Linked DNA regions of Homo sapiens: region 1 is linked to region 2. Evidence: promoter capture Hi-C in human tissues and cell types (Jung and others, 2019). All regions are on one chromosome and are shown on one strand. The core of a region is centred on a gene start or on the middle of the fragment in contact, and the rest is flanking DNA. Distances in the headings are between cores, read along the strand shown. Region 1 has its middle 36 kb from the start of PLA2G12B. Region 2 holds the start of PLA2G12B (phospholipase A2 group XIIB).

Evidence for each region. Contacts are between HindIII fragments. The study calls those that stand out against the background at their distance.
Region 1: a fragment that was not itself captured here is called in contact with the fragment with the promoter of PLA2G12B in region 2 in 1 of the 25 tissues and cell types used here (pancreas).

What each region holds. Positions count from the first base shown.
Region 1 is chr10:72,987,769-72,993,829 of GRCh38, reverse strand. No RefSeq gene overlaps it. Among named protein-coding and RNA genes, the nearest start is that of PLA2G12B, 36 kb to the right of the region's middle. The HindIII fragment of the contact is 3,008 bases long and covers 2,654-5,661 here.
Region 2 is chr10:72,949,853-72,956,823 of GRCh38, reverse strand. It overlaps PLA2G12B (phospholipase A2 group XIIB), which reads left to right and starts at 2,018. Exons shown (of 4, transcript NM_032562.5): 1 at 2,018-2,349. The coding sequence starts at 2,139. The HindIII fragment of the contact is 10,065 bases long and covers 1-5,130 here.

The DNA.
Region 1 (6,061 bases), core at 2,908-5,407, 35 kb before region 2:
TGTTGAATTTTGTCAAAGGCCTTTTCTGCATCTATTGAGATACTGATGTGGTTTTTGTCATTGGTTCTGTTTATGTGATGGATTACGTTTATTGATTTGCGTATTTATTTATTTTTTTGAGATGGAGTCTCACTCTGTTGCCCAGGCTGGAGTGCAGTGGTGCGATCTCAGCTCACTGCAAGCTCCGCCTCCCATGTTCACGCCATTCTCCTGCCTCAGCCTCCTGAGTAGCTGGGACTACACGCGCCCGCCACCACGCCTGGCTAATATTTTCTATTTTTAGTAGAGACGGGGTTTCACCGTGTTAGCCAGGATGGTGTCCATCTCTTGACCTCGTGATCCACCCACCTCAGCCTCCCAAAGTGCTGGGATTACAGGCGTGAGCCACCGCGCCCGGCAATTTGCGTATGTTGAACCAGCCTTGCATCCCAAGGATGAAGCTGACTTGATCGTGGTGGATAAGCTTTTTGATGTGCTGTTGGATTCAGTTTGCCAGTATTTTATTGAGGATTTTTGCATTGATGTTCATCAGGGATATTGGTCTAAAATTCTGTTTTTTTGTTGTGTCTCTGCCAGGCTTTGGTATCAGGATGATGTTGGCCTCATAAAATGAGTTAGGGGAGGATTCCCTCTTTTTCTATTGATTAGAATAGTTTCAGAAGGAAGGGTACTAGCTCCTCTTTCTACCTCTGGAAGAATTCGGCTGTGAATCCTTCTGGTCCCGGACTTTTTTTGGTTGGTAGGCTATTAATTATTGCCTCAATTTCAGAGCCTGTTATTGGTCTATTCAGAGATTCAACTGCTTCCTGGTTTAGTCTTGGGAGGGTGTGTGTGTCCAGGAATTTATCCATTTCTTCTAGATTTTGTAGTTATTTGCGTAGCAGTGTTTATAACATTCTCTGATGGTAGTCTGTATTTCTGTGGGATCGGTGGTGATATCCCCTTTATCATTTTTTATTGTGTCTATTTGATTCTTCTCTCTTTTCTTCTTTATTAGTCTTGCTAGCTGTCTATCAATTTTGTTGATCTTTTCAAAAAAAAAAAACCAGCTCCTGGATTCATTGATTTTTTTGAAGGGTTTTTTGTGTCTCTATCTCTTTCAGTTCTGATCTGATCTTAGTTATTTCTTGCCTTCTGCTAGCTTTTGAATGTGTTTGCTCTTGCTTCTCTTGTTCTTTTAGTTGTGATGTTAGGGTGTCGATTTTAAATCTTTCTTGCTTTCTCTTGTGGGCATTTAGTGCTATAAATTTTCCTCTACACACTGCTTTAAATGTGTCCCAGAGATTCTGGTACATTGTGTCTTTGTTCTCATTGGTTTCAAAGAACATGTTTATTTCTGCCTTCATTTCGTTATGTACCCAGTAGTCATTCAGGAGCAAGTTGTTCAGTTTCCATGTAGTTGAGTGGTTTTGAGTGAGTTTCTTAATCCTGAGTTCTAATTTGATTGCACTGTGGTCTGAGAGACAGATTGTTGTGATTTCTGTTCTTTAACATTTGCTGAGGAGTGCTTTACTTCCAATTATGTGGTCAATTTTAGAATAAGTGTGATGTGCTGAGAAGAATGTATATTCTGTTGATTTAGGGTGGAGAGATCTGTAGATGTCTATTAGGTCCGCTTGGTGCAGAGCTGAGTTCAAGTCCTGGATATCCTTGTTAACCTTCTGTCTCATTGATCTGTCTAATATTGACAGTGGGGTGTTAAAGTCTCCCATTATTATTGTGTGGGAGTTTAGGTCTCTTTGTAGGTCTCTAAGGACTTGCTTTATGAATCTGGGTGCCCCTGTATTGGGTGCATATATACATGTTTAGGATAGTTAGCTCTTCTTGTTGAATTGATCCCTTTACCATTATGTAATGATCATCTTTGTCTCTTTTGATCTTTGTTGGTTTAAAGTCTGTTTTGTCAGAGACTAGGATTGCAACCACTGGTTTTTTTTTTTTGTTTTTTTTTTTTTTTTTTTCTTTCCATTTGCTTGGTAGATTTCCTCCATCCCTTTATTTTGAGCCTATGTGCATCTTTGCACATGAGATGGGTCTCCTGAATACAGCACACTGATGGGTCTTGACTCTTTATCCAATTTGCCAGTCTGTGTCTTTCAATTGGGGCATTTAGCCCATTTACATTTAAGGTTAATATTGTTATGTGTGAATTTGATCCTGTCATTATGATGTTAGCTGGTTATTTTGCCCGTTAATTGATGTTTTTTCTTCATAGCATCAATGGTCTTTACAATTTGGCATGTTTTTGCAGTGGCTGGTGCTGGTTGTTTCTTTCCATGTTTAGTGCTTTCTTCAGGAGCTCTTGTAAGGCAGGCCTGGTGGTGACAAAATCTCTCAGCATTTGCTTGTCTGTAAAGGATTTTATTTCTCCTTCACTTACGAAGCTTAGTTTGTCTGGATATGAAATTCTGGGTTGAAAATTCTTTTAAGAATGCTGAATATTGGCCCCCACTCTCTTCCAGCTTGTAGGGTTTCTGCTGAGAGATCCACTGTTAGTCTAATGGGCTTCCCTTTGTGGGTAACCCGACCTTTCTCTCTGGCTGCCCTTAACACTTTTTCTTTCATTTCAACCTTGGTGAATCTGGCAATTATGTGTCTTGGAGTTGCTCCTCTCACGGAATATCTTTGTGGTGGTCTCTCTATTTCCTGAATTTGAATGTTGGCCTGCCTTGCTAGGTTGGGGAAGTTCTCCTGGATATTCTGAACAGTATTTTCCAACCTGGTTCCATTCTCCCCATCACTTTCTGGTATACCAATTAAACGTAGATTTGGTCTTTTCACATAGTCCCATATTTCTTGGAGGCTTTGTTCATTTCATTTTATTCTTTTTTTCTCTAACCTTGTCTTCTTGCTTTATTTCATTAATTTGATCTTAAATCACTGATACCCTTTCTTCCACTTGATTGAATCGGCTATTGAAGCTTGTGCATGCATCATGAAGTTCTTGTGCCATGGTTTTCAGCTCCATCAAGTCATTTAAGGTCTTCTCTACACTGTTTGTTCTAATTAGCCATTCATCTAACCTTTTTTCAAGGGTTTTAGCTTCCTTGCTATGGGTTCAAACATCCTCCTTTAGCTTGGAGAAGTTTGTTATTACTGACCTTCTGAAGCCTACTTCTGTCAACTTGTCAAAGTCATTCTCCATCCAGCTGTGTTCCGTTGCGGGCAAGGAGCTGCGATCCTTTGTAGGAGAAGAGGCACTCTGATTTTTGTATTTTTCAGCTTTTCTGCTCTGGTTTCTCCCCATCTTTGTGGTTTTGTCTACCTTTGGTCTTTGATGTTGGTGACCTACAGATGAGGTTTTGGTGTAGATGACCTTTTTGTTGATGTTGATGCTATTCCTTTCTGTTTGTTAGTTTTCCTTCTAACAGTCAGGTCCCTCAGCTGCAGGTCTGTTGGAGTTTGCTGGAGGTCCATTCCAGACCCTGTTTGCCTGGGTATCACCAGTGGAGGCTGCAGAACAGCAAATATTGCAGAACAGCAAATATTGCTGCCTGATCCTTCCTCTGGAAGCTTCATCCCAGAGGGGCAGCCGCCTATAGGAGGTGTCTGTCGGCCCCTACTGGGAGGTGTCCCCAGTTAGGCTACACGGGGGTCAGAGACCCTCTTGAGGAGGCAGTCTTCCATTCTTAGAGCTCAAATGCTGTGCTGGGAGAACCACTGCTCTCTTCAGAGCTGTCAGACAGGGACGTTTAAGTCTGCAGAAGTTGTCTGCTGGCTTTTGTTCAGCTATGCCCTGCCCACAGAGGTGGAGTGTAGAGGCAGTAGGCCTTGTTGAGCTGTGGTGGGCTCTACCCAGCTTGAGCTTCCCGGCTGCTTTGTTTACCTACTCAAGCCTCAGCAATGGCTACGCCCCCTCCCCCTGCCTGGCTGCAGCCTAGCAGGCTGATCTCAGACTGCTGTGCTAGCAGTGAACAAGGCTCTGTGGGCGTGGGACCCACCGAGCCATGCATGGGAGAGAATCTCCTTGTCTGCCGGTTGCTAAGACCTTGGAAAAAGTGCTGTATTTGGGTGGGAGTGTCCCTTTCCAGGTAGTCTGTCACGGCTTCCCTTGGCTAAGAAAGGGAAATTCCCTGACCCCTTGTGCTTCCCGGATGAGGTGATGCCCCGCCCTGCTTTGGCTTGCCCCCACTGTCCAACCAGTACCAATGAGATGAACCAGGTACCTCCCTTGGAAATGCAGAAATCACCCATCTTCTGTGTTGATCACACTGGGAGCTGCAGACCAGAGCTGTTCCTATTCAGCCATCTTGGAACGCCCCTCATGATTTTTTTTTAAATAGCAAGGGACAGAAATTTCCTCAACTTGATAAAAGGCATTTATAAGAATCTTATTTTAGCATATTTAAACGGTAAAGGACAGAATGCCTTCTCCCTATGTTTGGAATAAGTCAACAATATCTGCTTTCCTCCATTCCTACTTAACATTGAACTAGAAATCCGGGTTAACGCAATAACGTAAGAAACAGAAATAAAAGGCACACACCTCAGAAAGGAAGAATTAAAGTAGTAGTCTTTATTCATATGTGACATGATTGTGTTGGTTAGAAAAAAAATTCCTAGAGAATCTACAAAAGAGTTTTTAAAAATGAACAGAGGTTAACAAGAGTGTAGAATACAAAGTCCATATACAAAAACGAATTAAAAACTGAATTTAAAAAACAGTATGATAGCCTGAAAAATGTTACACTTAGATTTAAATTTAACAAAATATGTATAAGAACTGTATATTGAAAACTATAAAACATTGCTGAGAAATATTAGAGAAGTTCTAAATAAATGGAGATAGGTATCATGTTCACAGATCAGAGGACTCAATTTTGCTTTCCCCAAATTAACCTATATATTCAAGACAATCCCAATAAAAATCCAAGCAGATTTTTTAAAAATAGTCTCATTCTAAAACAAAAAATTTATTTAAAGAGACAGGGTCTTGCTCTGTTGCCCAGACTGAAATGCTGTAGCACGATCATAGCTCACTGCAGCCTTGAACTCCTGGGCTCAAGCAATCCTCCCACGTCAGCTTCCTGAGTAGTTGGGATTATAGGCATGAACTATCATGCTTGCCTTATCCTAAAATTTATACGGAAATACAAAGGATCCAGAATAAAGATGACAATTAGCGGGGGAAGAAAAGGAATAAAGTTGGAAGATTCACATGACCTAATTTAAAGACTTTTTTTTTTTTTTTTTTTTTTTGGTGAGACAGAGTCTTACTCTGTCCCCCAGGTTGGGTGCAGCAGCGTTAGCTCACTGCAACCTCCACTTCCCGGAATCAAGCAATTCTCCTGCCACAGCCTCCCAAGTAGCTGAGATTACAGGTTCCTGCCACCACGCCCAGCTAATTAATTTTTGTATTTTTAGTAGAGATGGGGGTTTCACCATGTTGGCCAGACTGGTCTTGAACTCCTGACCTCAAGTGATCCACCCACCTTGGCCTCCCAAAGTGCTGGGATTACAGGCATGAGCTACCGTGCCCGGCCTAAAGACTTTTTATAAAGCAACAGTAAGTGAAGATAGTGTTATTATTCTAAGAATAGACATATAGATCAATGGCACAAAATAGAAAGTCCAGAAAGAGACAAACACATACGCGTTCAACTGATTGTCCGCAAAGGAGTCAATACAATTCAATAGAAAATGGATACCTTTCAACAAGTGTAACTGGAACAAATTGGTTATCTGTCTACCACCTATGTGTCTATCAAGCCATAACCTTTACTTCATGCTATATACAAAAAATAAGTTGAAATGAATTATATACCTGAATGTGAAAGTTACAACTATAAAAACTTAGGAAAAAAATACTTTTGACTTCGGGATAGGCAGTAGTTTCTTAGGACATAAAAAGCATTAACCTCAGCCAGGTGTGGTGGCTCATGCCTGTAATCCTAGCACTTTGGGAGGCTGAGGCAGGAATGTCACTTGAGGTCAGGAGTTCAAGACCAGCATGGGCAATATAGTGAGACCCTGTTCTATTAAACAAACAAACCAGAAAAAAACAACAACAAAAAAGCATTAACCATAAAAGAAAAAATACACTGGAGTTTACCAATATTTG
Region 2 (6,971 bases), core at 769-3,268:
ATCTCTATTAACCTTATTATATTTTACAAATAATAAAACATTTTTTAAAGGAAAAAGCTTTATAGTTAGCTTTTTTTTTTTGAGGCAGAGTCTCACTCTGTCACCCAGGCTGGAGTGCAGTGGCACGATCTTGGCTCACTGCAACCTCCACTTCCCTGGTTCAAGCAATTCTCCTGCCTCAGCCTCCTGAGTAGCTGGGATTATAGGTGCACGCCACCACGCCGGGCTAATCTTTTTGTATTTTTAGTAGAGACGGGGTTTCACCATATTGGCCAGACTGGTCTTGAACCCCTGACCTCAGGCAATCCACCTGCCTCGGCCCCCCAAAGTCCTGGGATTACAGGTGTGAGCCACCGCGCCCAGCCTATAGTTAGTATTTTAATGGCAAGTTCCCCTGCTTTTGGAAAAGGAGCTCTGCATTTGCAGTTTTGTTTTGGTGAAGCCCTACAAATTATGTAGCTGGCCCTGGTGCCAGCTTTCCCATTGATAGCCTGTCCAGCTTTGATCAAGTCACTTACCCTCTGCATCAGTTTTCTCACCCCCAAATGGGACTATTTAATCTGCTTCATGAAACTGGCATGAACATTTGTGCATATGTGCATGTGTATGTGTGTGCCTCTGTGTATGTGCATATGCATGAAAGTGGTTTGAAAAAGTATAGATGCTTTAAAATATTGGGTGGCATTGTTGTGACTATGAATAATTTTTAACCACTGCCCTTCCTGGAGTCTGAGTCTTCAGCCAAACACATTTACTGAAAATGAAGAAATTAATTCATTTAATTCATTATTTTCCATGGGGCTTTCCAGACAAACATTTGAGAAAGGAGCTAAATGATTCATGTGGTCCATAAAGGTATCATTTTTATAGACTGGTGATTATTTTATTATTACTATTTTTTTGAGACAGAGTTTCGCTCTTGTCGCCCATGCTGGAGTGCAATGGCGTGCTCTCGGCTCACTGCAACCTCCGCCTCCTGGGTTCAAGTGATTCTCCTGCCTTAGCCTTCCTAGTAGCTGGGATTACAGGCGGCTGCTACCTTGCCTGGCTAATTTTTGTATTTTTAGTGGAGACGGGGTTTCGCTATGTTGGTCAGGCTGGCCTCAAACTCCTGACCTCAGGTGATCCAAACGCCTCGGCCTCCCAAAATGCTGGGATTACAGGCATGCACCACCATGCCCGGTCCTAGACTAGTGATTTTATAGATGGCATTTCTTCACACGACTAAAAGCAGTCTAAACTGAAAACGATGCCAAAACACTAGACTTCAGTCAACAGTCTTAAAAGCCTACACTCCCAAATAGACTATTTGATAAACCCTCTGACTTCTAAGAAACTCAAAGGAAAAACACCACCAGGAGAGCCGAGTGCCCCCAGAATTGTCCTTGGACCATCTGTAGATCTTGTCTTATGATCCACTTATGCTGAGTGTAAACAGAGATACTGCTGTAAATAGAAGCCAAAATGTCCCTGCACTCAGATGGCTACATCTGGGAGCTCTGCCAAATTAGAGGATTTATGCGTCAGAGCCAGGTGGGTTCCACAGCAGAAGCTGGGGTCTCAAATCTGAACTTCTGCTTAACACACACTTGGTACCTACTCTGACACTATCGTGACCCTTGGTAAAGTGACTATTAATTCCTACCGCTGGGGCTTTCCTGGGCCCTGTACACATCCTCCTGACTCTCCTTGGAGACTATGTAGGTAGCTGGCTGAGGGGTGTGGCTAGGACCTTCGGTCAAGCTCTTCTATCAAGAGGCTGGCCCTGAAGAGCCACACTTGTAACTGATCAACAGCTTAACAAGCTGGTCGGGGTAGAACTCCGAATCCTTCACCGTTCCTGCGTCTCAGAAGCTGGCTAACATCTCCCTCCCTCCAGGGTGGTAGAATCCACTTTGAAATGTTCTCTCTCCCTGGCCCTCCCACTCCCTAACCTTTGCCCTCTTTCTAATTGCCCTGATCTCATCCCAACCTCCATAGCTATGTTTAAAGTCCACCTCTGGGGAACAGACAGATTGAATGTTCCAGATAATCCCTTTCCCAGTCCTGCCTGACATCTGGGTAGGGGGTTTGTCCCTGGAATTCTGGGACACTGGCTGGGGTTTGAGGAGAGAAGCCAGTACCTACCTGGCTGCAGGATGAAGCTGGCCAGTGGCTTCTTGGTTTTGTGGCTCAGCCTTGGGGGTGGCCTGGCTCAGAGCGACACGAGCCCTGACACGGAGGAGTCCTATTCAGACTGGGGCCTTCGGCACCTCCGGGGAAGCTTTGAATCCGTCAATAGCTACTTCGATTCTTTTCTGGAGCTGCTGGGAGGGAAGAATGGAGTCTGTCAGTACAGGTGCCGATATGGTGAGTGTGCGGTTTCTCTTTCTGTAAAAACTGTTGCTGGTGGACCCATGGACAGCCCCAGAGAGGTCACGATCTGTCTTGCACTTTTTCCTGTTATCCACTTAGAGCTGCCAGATTTAGCAGATAAAAATGTAGGACACCCAGTGAAATGTGAAATCCAAATAAACAACAAATAAGTCATTAGTATAAGTATGTCCAGTGAAATATCTGGGACATACTTATCCTGACAAATTCTTCGTTGTTTATCTCAAACTCACATTTCACTGAGCTTCCTGTATTGTATCTGGGAAACCTTCCCTGGGCCATTTTAATGAGTTTGTTGTGAGGCAGTTCTTAGGAAAAAAGGGTACCTGGGGTGGGAAGAAGGAGGGTGGGTATGAGAGGCCTCTGTGAGGAGTTCCCAGGGATGAAAACTGAAGCCGAACATTCAGAGAAAAATCTGCCATGGGGCAAAACCACCTCCTCAGCTGCTCTGTGCTCAGCTTGGAAACAAATTCTCCCTTCCCCCTGCTGCAGTTCACACCGTCCTCCCAGCTCTCAGTCCCTGACTGGCATCAATTTGCTGGACTTTCTCAAGGGAGCTGTCCCTGCCTGCAGCCTCGGCAACGACAGGCATGCTGTGGAGAGGAAGGGTTCGTGGCTCACCAGGGATCCCGGGGCTGTCCCCTGGACTTGGCGCCAGATGCAGATTTGTGAGCTGGCAGGAGCACTTCCCCTACCTTGCCTGAATATGGCTGGGGGTACACAGATATAAGGTGCACACCTGGCTGCCGGCACAGAGCCCCTGGTCCCAGGGGCCCTGGAAGTTAATGTAAGGGGAGCAAAATGTGGAGCCCCAGGCCTTGAAGCTGGGTGGCATCGTGTAATTGCCAATGCGCATGAAAACGTTTTCCAAAGCATGCACAGTCTCAGGTCTCAGGTAGCATTAGTTTTATGGTTTAATTTATCAACTATCTCATCAAGGGATTAGAAATGAAAATGGTGAGTCAATTTAGCCTAACAGGAAAACACATTTGAGAAATATTTTCTCCAAATACTCAACAGAGAAAAAGTCAGCTTTGAAGAGATGCACAAAAAAACTACATACTTCCCGGACTCACCCTTAAGTCTCTCTATTCCTTTTTGAGTGGGGAAAATCGCTTCCTTATACACTAAGAGTGACTAGGAGGTAATGGTTAATCATTGCATCAGGACCCAAAGTTTTGCAGCATAGATGTTTTAACAATCTATGGTTAAAATCTATGTTTTAACCATCTATGTTTTAACCATCTATGCTGCAGCTTCTTTGTGAAAGTTTCACAGAGAAAAATGCCTGGTCTGTTAGGACCCACCTGGCCCTAAAACCATGTATTTGTCCAAGGCAGTTGGACCAACGCAGAGGCCTTGCCACTGGATTATGCTCACACTGTTTGCACGGATGGGACAGGGAAGGGGTTGACTCACTTCAGACATTGGAATCAACACAGGTGTTTTCCTTCCTAAAGGCAACACAGGACTAGTATCTGTAGTTCAGCAAATAGGCAACAGCAGGAATTTTTATTAGGAAATCAAGAACCAAATCCTATTCTTCCTTCTCTAGCAAAACAGCATTAAAAGACTTAAGCAAATTTTAGTTGCGGAGCCTCTGGCTGGGCAGGGTGGAAGCCAGCAGCAACTGGTGGGGGATGGGAAGAGTAAATAGAAGAGAAAGGCAAATAACTCTTCTCACTTTGTGTAAAACAACCTGCTCAAAGAGGGGCCTGAAAAACACTTAGAAAAATAGGCGGTTATGCCTCCTTACCTTGGAACCCAGTAGAGCCAAAAACCTGGCGGCTGTGCCCAAAAGAGTACAAAATACCTTCTCAAACTGATTGTGAATCGAGCAATCTTTTGAACAGACAACACCTAACAACGAGTCTGCTCTTTTGTAGTTTGCTTTGTGACACATCTCTCATGCACCGTGCTCGTCTTTTAAGTAGTGGTTCTCAAACTCACCTGTGAATTGAAGCCCCTGGAGGGCAGATTCAACCAGATCTCTGGGCCCCACCCCAGGTGTTTCTGATTAGTAGGAGATTCTGGGCTTAGGAGATCCTCCTGCCTCAGCCTCCCAGTTAGCTTGGGCTACAGGTGTGCGCCACCATGCCCAGATAATTTTGTAACTTTTTGTAGAGCAGGGAGTCTCACCATCTTGCCCAGGCTGGTCTCCAACTCCAGGGCTCAAGCAATCCTCCCAACTTGGCCTCCCAGATTGCTGGGATTATAGGCGTGAGCCACGGCACCAGCCAGATTTTACCTTTGATAGGTACTAACTACTATTTAAAACAGTGGGTTTCTAACTTGGGTACACTTCAGATCACCTGAGGGGCTTTAACAACACCTGGCACCAAATCAATTAAATCAAAATTTCTGTGGGTTGGCCCCAGACATCAGTATTTTAACATTTTTCCCAGGTGATTGCAAAGCACAGCCAAGGTAAAGGGGTGCCATTCTATGACGTCATTCTTAGAGAACTTCAGCCCACAGGTTAAATTATGCAGGCAGATAAAACTGTGTATGTATCCTGGTAGCCCATGATAGCATGTCAACATTGTTTTCCGTGCTTCTCATATCTAAAGTAATTTGTTCTCATGCCAACACACAAAATCTGTACTTGTCAAACAACTGGGCTATAAATATGACAAGATCCAGCGTGTGTCAATGGCATACCTAGCACAACTGTTATTAAGGAGTCTCTACCAGCTGGGTGCGGTGGCTCATGCCTGTAATCCCAGCACTTTGGGAGGCCAAGGCAGGCAGATCACGATGTCAGGAGATCGAGACCATCCTGGCTAACACGGTGAAACCCTGTCTCTATTAAAAATACAAAAAAAATTAGCCGGGTGTAGTGGCGGGTGCCAGTAGTTCCAGCTACTCGGGAGGCTGAGGCAGGAGAATGGTGTGAACCTGGGAGGCAGAGCTTGCAGTGAGCTGAGATCTCACCATTGCACTGCAGCCTGGGCAACAGAGCGAGACTCCACCTCAAAAAAAAAAAAAAAAAAAAAAAGGAGTCTGTGCCAATGCAAACAAGATTTCCTTGAGAATCGCTTCCAAAATATAGATAACCTTTTCCACCTCCAGAGATTCTGATGCAGTAGGTCTGTGGTGAGACCTTGGAAGTGCACTTTTAATGGGTAGTCTTTGAACCAGACTTTGAGAAATAAGCATAGTAATGGAAAAATCATGGGTTTGAATTTAGGAGAAAATATCCCATTGCTGGTGACCTTGGGTGAGTTATCTGACTCTCTCAACCTTAGTTTCCTCAAATATGTAAAAATAATGTTACTAATACCCACCTTGCAAAGGTGTTGTGAGAATTAAAGATAATATACATAAAGAATCAGTGGTATATATAAAGCATGGTAGGTACCAAACAAATTTTATAAACGTTATGAGAAAGACAGTCTAGTGAACAGGTTAATTGCATTCAGATTCTTCTAGCTCTCTTTCAACGTAAAAATGAAAAATCCCAGAAATCCCAGTGGCTGGACAACAGCCTCTCAGCTTCCGGAAGAAGTCCCTCGAGGGAACAACGACTGAAGAGTTATCTGCCTCATGAAGGTCTCTGGAGTTGGGTCAATGGAGTAGTTTCTATAATGATACTGTTCACGCTTTCACACTTTAATAAAAGATCCTGAAAATGAATTTCTTCCTGGATTTAGTTCCAAGAGTATCTTAAAAGTTTCTTTAAATATCTGTCTATTGTAATCCCAGCACTTTGGGAGGCTGAGGCCGGCGGATCATTTGAGGTCAGGAGTTTGAGACTAGCCTGGCCAGCATGGTGAAACCCCATCTGTACTAAAAATACAAAAATTAGCCGGGCGTGGTGGCGCGCCCTGTAATCCCAGCTACCTGGGAGGCTGAGGCAGGAGAATCACTTGAACCCTGGAGGAAGAGGTTGCAGTGAGCCGAGATCGTGCCATTGCACTCCAGCCTGGGCAACAGAGCGAGATTAAGTTTCAAAAATAAACAAATAAATAAATAAATAAAAATAAATATCAGTCTATTTTTTAAAGAGAATTTTTATCTGAAGTTTTACAGCAAAATTTTATAAACCTGTGAGTTTGTATCTTTTTCCAGGGAAATAACTCAAAGACTTCATCAGATTCTCCAGGGAATCCAGAGCCCAAAAAAAGAAAACAGCCACTGGCTTAGAGGCAAACAGATTATTCTTGTTTTTGGGCAACTGACCTCCTAGTCTGCTGGGGACTCAAGGAGGAGGGGAGATGCTCCTGGGATGTGAGACTTTCAGTACTAACACCGGGACGGGTACCAGGCAAACCAGGACAAGTTGCTCACCCTACTTTATGCAGTAACTTAATCTGTTTTAGTGACTGAAATACAGAGTTCTTCTCTACAGGAGAATTGCCTCTGTCCTGCTGTGTTCCATTGATGTATTAATCATGGTGCATCTGAGTGTTTCTGGGAGGAAGGAGGACATACCTTTCTTTCTTTTTTTTTTTTCTGGAATTTTGTTTTTCTTGAGACGGAGTCTCCCTCTGTCACCCAGGCTGGAGTGCAGTGGTACTATCTCGGCTCACTGCAACCTCCGCCTTCCAGGTTCAAATGATTCTCCTACCTCAGCCTCCTGGCGTAGCTGGGATTAC